Regions from separate parts of the Homo sapiens genome. Here region 1 is linked to region 2. Evidence: promoter capture Hi-C in human tissues and cell types (Jung and others, 2019). All regions are on one chromosome and are shown on one strand. The core of a region is centred on a gene start or on the middle of the fragment in contact, and the rest is flanking DNA. Distances in the headings are between cores, read along the strand shown. Region 1 overlaps ASCC1 (activating signal cointegrator 1 complex subunit 1). Region 2 holds the start of PSAP (prosaposin).

Region 1 (2,700 bases), core at 127-2,626, 320 kb before region 2:
GAACATTTGAAGGCTTATAGATCCATCTGAAGCAACAGGGGATTTCTCAGGCTGCCTAGAGAACCTGAATCAGTTATAGCTGCAGAAACTACATAATTCTGCTCATATTGTAACATGGAGGCTTACACTGGGCAGAATGGGTAATGGGTCTGCATCCCCCTAACTCCCTCAGGCAGGATTTTTTTTCCAGTTAGTATTAGTCACTGAAGAAGAAAATGTTTATATAAAAGCTTTAGTGTATAATTTAGGATTTTTCATGTTTAAGGGTAGTTGTAGGATTTGTAGTTATCTTTTGAACTGATTTAGAATGAAGATGGGATAGTTGTCTTTGGTTGTAAGGAAAATTGTAAAAAGCCCCAAGTTCTGATTGTAAAACCTACCAAGTTGGGTAGGAAAGTAAGAAAAGGAAATATTTACAAGATTCATATATTGTCCCATTTCGGTGGAGATACTAGTTTTGAACAGGTTTTTGTGTCTTATTGATTCATGCACTAGTTATTAAATGTCTACTTTATACCAGGTATATATAACATATAGGACATATTATGTGCCAACAATGGACTCTACTCTTAAGGATCCCATACTCTAGGGTGTGGGAAATAGACTTCTTCCAGAAATAGGTACCGTGTTGTGAGATAAGTGCTACTAGATAAGTGCAGTGTGTACCCAGAGGAGAAATTCTGTAGTGGTTGCAGAAGGCTTGATAAGGGAGCTGACAATTGAACAGTCTGGAAGGGACAGGAGTTTGTGCCAGGCTGGCAAATGGGGGCAGGGAGCATTCTGCGCAGAGGAAATGTCACTTGTGAGGTATTCAGGGGAGAGTGAGGAATTTGTTAAGGCTGGTACTTAGAAAGAGGTAGAGTAAGGAAGAGGTAGGAGTTAAGAGTGGAAATGACATGGCACCCAAGTTGTGAAAGCTCTTGTGTGGGTTAAGGATTTTGAATGTAATATCCTATAGAGAGTAAGAAAATAGTTAAGGCTGGGCATGGTAGCTCACACCTGTAATCTTAACACTTTGGGAGGCTGAGGTGGGAGGATCCCTTGAGTCCAGGAGTTTGAAACCAGCCTGGGCAACATAGTGAAACTCTGTGTCCACAAAAAATAAAAAAAATTAGCCAGGCATGGTGGTGTGTACCTGAGGTCCCAGCTACTTGGGAGGCTGATGTGGGAGGAGGATTGCTTGAGTCCAGAGATAGAGGTTACAGTAGCCATGATTGTGCCACTGCACTCTAGCCTGGGTGACAGAGCGAGACCCTGTCTCCAAAAGAAAGAAAGAAACAAACTAGTTAAGATTTTAAGCAAGGACTGTGATGAACTTAGCACCACAGAAAAAAAATTGAAGGCAGTGTGGAGGATGTCTTGAGAGGTAAGGAGTTGGGCACCAAGGCAGGTACCAGTTGGGAGGCTATCGATACTGTCTATTGAAAGAAGAATAGGGTTTGTGGCATATTCAGGAGGGGATATATTCCAAAGATATTTCAGAGTTCTGCTCTGAAGTGGGGATAATAATGGTATTAATGTTACAGTGTTGATATGAAGAGTAAATGAGTTAATAAGTTTAAGGTGTTTGGAGCAGAGCATGGCACATAGTGCCGAATGAATGTTATTGTTGTTATAATTGTAATTATTGCTGTACCAAGTAAGACTTGTAGTAATCCCATGGGTTACAAAATGGAGGGGAAGGAAGGAGTGGCATTAAGAAGCAGCAACAGATCTCTCTTGCGCTGTTAACCCATCAGAAACGTGAGAGGAACCAGGGTCTGTCTTTGGGAATAAATGTAAGTTGAGTAGATGCCTTGCTAACTAGTGCTTTCAAGTAACTATGGAGGAATAGTGAAGTTTTTAGAAGAGTAGGCTGAAGGATTCTTTGTGCTCATCTAAGGTAAGTGGGGTGGTGCATCCTTTAGTGAGGGGAGATGCTCTTCACTCCTCTTTAATGGGTAAAGATCTTTAGACAATGCATGAGAAGTTCTTTTCTCTGGTCAGTATAAAAGCCCATGCTTGAATGTTTGTCCACGTTTTAAGAACCTCTCCACTTTCTTGTAATTATGTATGAATAAATAGAATTTATAAGCCAGGAGAAACAAAACCCTTTTTTCTAAAGCTTATACAGCTTAACACAGTATTTCGTTAATAACACATAGTGACTTGCAAATCAAAGTCAGCTTTTCTGAACATTCTTAAAGAATAATGGAAATGACTCAGCAGAGCCTAATTTAGCTTCCAGTGCTGCTTTAAAAGGGAGAGCAAAGATGGCATTTGTCTAGTGCTGCACAGTCATGTAAAAAGGAAGAGGGGGAAGCTTGTATTTATTCCATACTACTGTGTGCCAGAGACTTCATATGTGTTTCATCTGCAGAGCAAACCTGAGACAGAAGTATTGTCTGTTTTATAGATGATGAAATTAAGCTTCATAGCAACTGAGTAACTCACCTAGGGTCATGCTGCTGATAGGTGGCAGAATTTGAACATAGGCCTGTCTGGTTGCACAGCCAAATGCTCTTTTCATCACTTTGCCTTATTTGAATAACTTCTTTAGATGAATGAACTTCATATCACCTGCCCAGAAACAGTTCTACAAGATTTGGCCATAAAAAAAGAAAGAAAATACAACGAGTATAGGGGAAGCATGCATATTTTCTCTTTTTCTTTGCATAGAATATCAGAAAGTGAATTGGTAGATCCCTCACACATAATCTA
Region 2 (2,700 bases), core at 148-2,647:
CTGAAGGTTCTGAGGCCTTAGTCCCTGGGGTTGTTCTCCAGAGCGGATTGCAGATTGGAGGAAGTTGGAGGAACTGTAGGTTTGCCCTTCCTGGGTCAGGAAACCTGGCTTCGGGCCAGGTTCTATCTCTACCTGTTGTGTGACCTTGGATAAACGTCTTGCCCTCTCCTAGGCTCAATGTCCCTACAGGTAAATGACCTCTAAGTGCCTGCCCTAAGGGGCTAAGATTCCCCTCCTTTCCCTGCCTTGCGGTTGGCAGGTTCTTATCCTTCTGGAGAGGGTCATCATCATTCTCTGTTCAGGTCCTGGCAGGGGCAGCCACAGGCAGAGGGTCTTTGGGTCTTAATTTCTGAAGGCTTCCATGTCACATAAAACGTTGATTACATAAATTTGTTATGCTTTTCTCTTAAGCTGTCTCGTTACAGGAGTGTTGGTTGTGACTCTTATGATCTCTTATGATGGGTGAGGAATGGTATTACATCTTTAACGGTACCACAATGTGAGGCTTAAAAGTTTTTTGTTTTTTTTTTTTTGGTGATGGGAATCTCTCTCGCTCTGTGGTCCAGGCTGCAGTGCAGTAGTGCGATCTTGACTCACGGCAACCTCCACCTCCCGGGTTTAAGCAATTTTCCTGCCTCTGCCTCCTGAAATAGCTGGAACCACAGGCGAGCGCCACCACGCCTGACTAATTTTTGTATTTTTAGTAGAGACAGGGTTTCACCATATTGGCCAGGCTGGTCTTGAACTCCTGACCTCATGATCCGCCCGCCTCGGCCTCCCAAAGTGTTAGGATTACAGGAGTGAGCCAGCATGCCCAGCCCAGACTTGCCTTTGACCAGGTGCCACCACCTGCCCCCACGTGCCCCTGGCCAGGACTGAGCCCTGTACCCTGTTACACGACTACTTATTCTATGTGAAACCCCAAGCTATTCTATGTGAAACCCGCTACTACAATGGGCTAATTTTTTTGTATTTTTTTTTTTGTAGAGATGGGGTTTCACCACGTTGCCCAGGCTAGTCTTGAACCCTCCGCCCGCCTCGGCCTCCCAAGTGTTGGGATTACAGGCGTCAGCCACCGCGGCCGGCCAACAATGTGGAGATTTAAAAGGTATTTTACATATATAATCTCTGACCTATTCAATTAGTAGGGCTTTTCTTTTATGACCTTTCCCTTCCCTTTCTCCAAGTTCTTCCTCACTCCTCCCCATAGCCCTTCCTTTCGCCCCTCCCATTGCCCCCTCCTATTGGCCTCCCCTTCGCGCAGGCGCCCTCAGAGGCGCTGAGTCAGGGCGCTGTTGAGCTCGGGCAGGCCCGGATGGGGCGGGGTTAGCGCCTGCGCTCTGGACGGCTTTGGGGCAGGGCAGATTTATATCTGCGGGGGATCAGCTGACGCTCCGCATTGCAGACTGCGGAGTCAGACGGCGCTATGTACGCCCTCTTCCTCCTGGCCAGCCTCCTGGGCGCGGGTAAGCCCTGGGACCCTCATCCTGGGGAGGAGGTGCCTCGCAGCGTCCATCTGCCCCAGAATGGGCTGTGCCGGGCCTGGCCCCTCTGCTCCCCCTGCCCTAGTTGGCAAGGGGGCGCGCGCACTGCGCAGGCGCGTTCGCTGGCTTTCTCTGGCTTTCTCTGGGCGGCTGGGGGCTGCGGGGGGCGGGCTGCGAAAATGCCCCCGGGAGGACGGCCCAGGCCCTGGGCAGCATCTCCTTCGGGGCTCGAGTGGGTTCCTGCGCGGCTGGGGCCCCGAGGCCTTCCCTCAGGCTGCGCTTCCCACTGTGGGGGTGGGTGAGTCTTGTAGGGTGACCCCTTGGGCAGCTGTGTTGTGCCTGTGCTGGGCGCACGTGATCGAGGTGGGCTGGAGCCCCGTCCCGCAGGACACTTTGGCCGTTGGCTTCAGTTGCCTGTTTGTAAGGGTAGCGAAGCTGCAGGAAGCACATGTGTATCATCTATATTGACGTTTGCATATGTATTTACTCTGGATTCTAGGTGTTGACAAAACGAGTCAAACTCTGTAAAAATATTTTGAGATTTATTCTGAGGCAAATATGAGTGACCATGGCCCGTGACACAGCCCTCAGGAGGTCCTGAGAACATGTGCCTAAGGTGGTTGGGATACAGCTGGGTTTTACATATTTTCGGGAGGCACGAGACATCAATCAAATACATTTAAGAAATACGTTGGTTTGGTTCAGAAGGGCGAAACAACTCAAAGCGGCGGGGGGCTTCCAGGCCATAGGTAAATTTAAACATTTTCTAGTTGATAATTGGTTGAGTTTATCTGAAAACCTAGAATCAATAGAAAGAAAGTATTCAAGTTAAGATAAAGGATTGTGGAGACCAAGTTTTATTGTGCAGAGGAAGCTCTCAGGTAGCCGACTAAGAGAGCGAGCACGTTGTAAAATATTTCTATGGAAATGAAAGGGTGACTGGCTCTTAGTTGATTATCTCCTGGATCTGGAGAGGAAGGAAGGAAAACATAGGGGAAAGGGGATTCTCTATAGAATGTGGATTTTTCCCACAAGAGACTTTGCAGGGCAATTTCAAGGTATGGCAAGGAAATATATTTTGGGGTTAGATATTTTGATTTTTTTTTCCTTGTCTTATAAAATGTTATGCCAGAGTCAGATTGGAAAGTAAGTCACGATATATGGGGTCAAATAAAACCCATCTGATGAGAGTTTATGGTTTGTAGGGTATGATTCC

What was found. Contacts are between HindIII fragments. The study calls those that stand out against the background at their distance.
Region 1: a contact is called between a fragment that was not itself captured here and the fragment with the promoter of PSAP in region 2, in 1 of the 25 tissues and cell types used here (dorsolateral prefrontal cortex).

The regions. Positions count from the first base shown.
Region 1 is chr10:72,174,922-72,177,621 of GRCh38, reverse strand. All of the region lies in intron 5 of ASCC1 (activating signal cointegrator 1 complex subunit 1), which reads left to right. Among named protein-coding and RNA genes, the nearest start is that of ANAPC16, 40 kb to the left of the region's middle. The HindIII fragment of the contact is 4,533 bases long and covers 1-2,700 here.
Region 2 is chr10:71,849,948-71,852,647 of GRCh38, reverse strand. It overlaps PSAP (prosaposin), which reads left to right and starts at 1,397. Exons shown (of 14, transcript NM_002778.4): 1 at 1,397-1,466. The coding sequence starts at 1,427. RefSeq lists enhancers at 1,186-1,716, 1,717-2,247, 2,639-2,700. The HindIII fragment of the contact is 10,422 bases long and covers 1-2,700 here.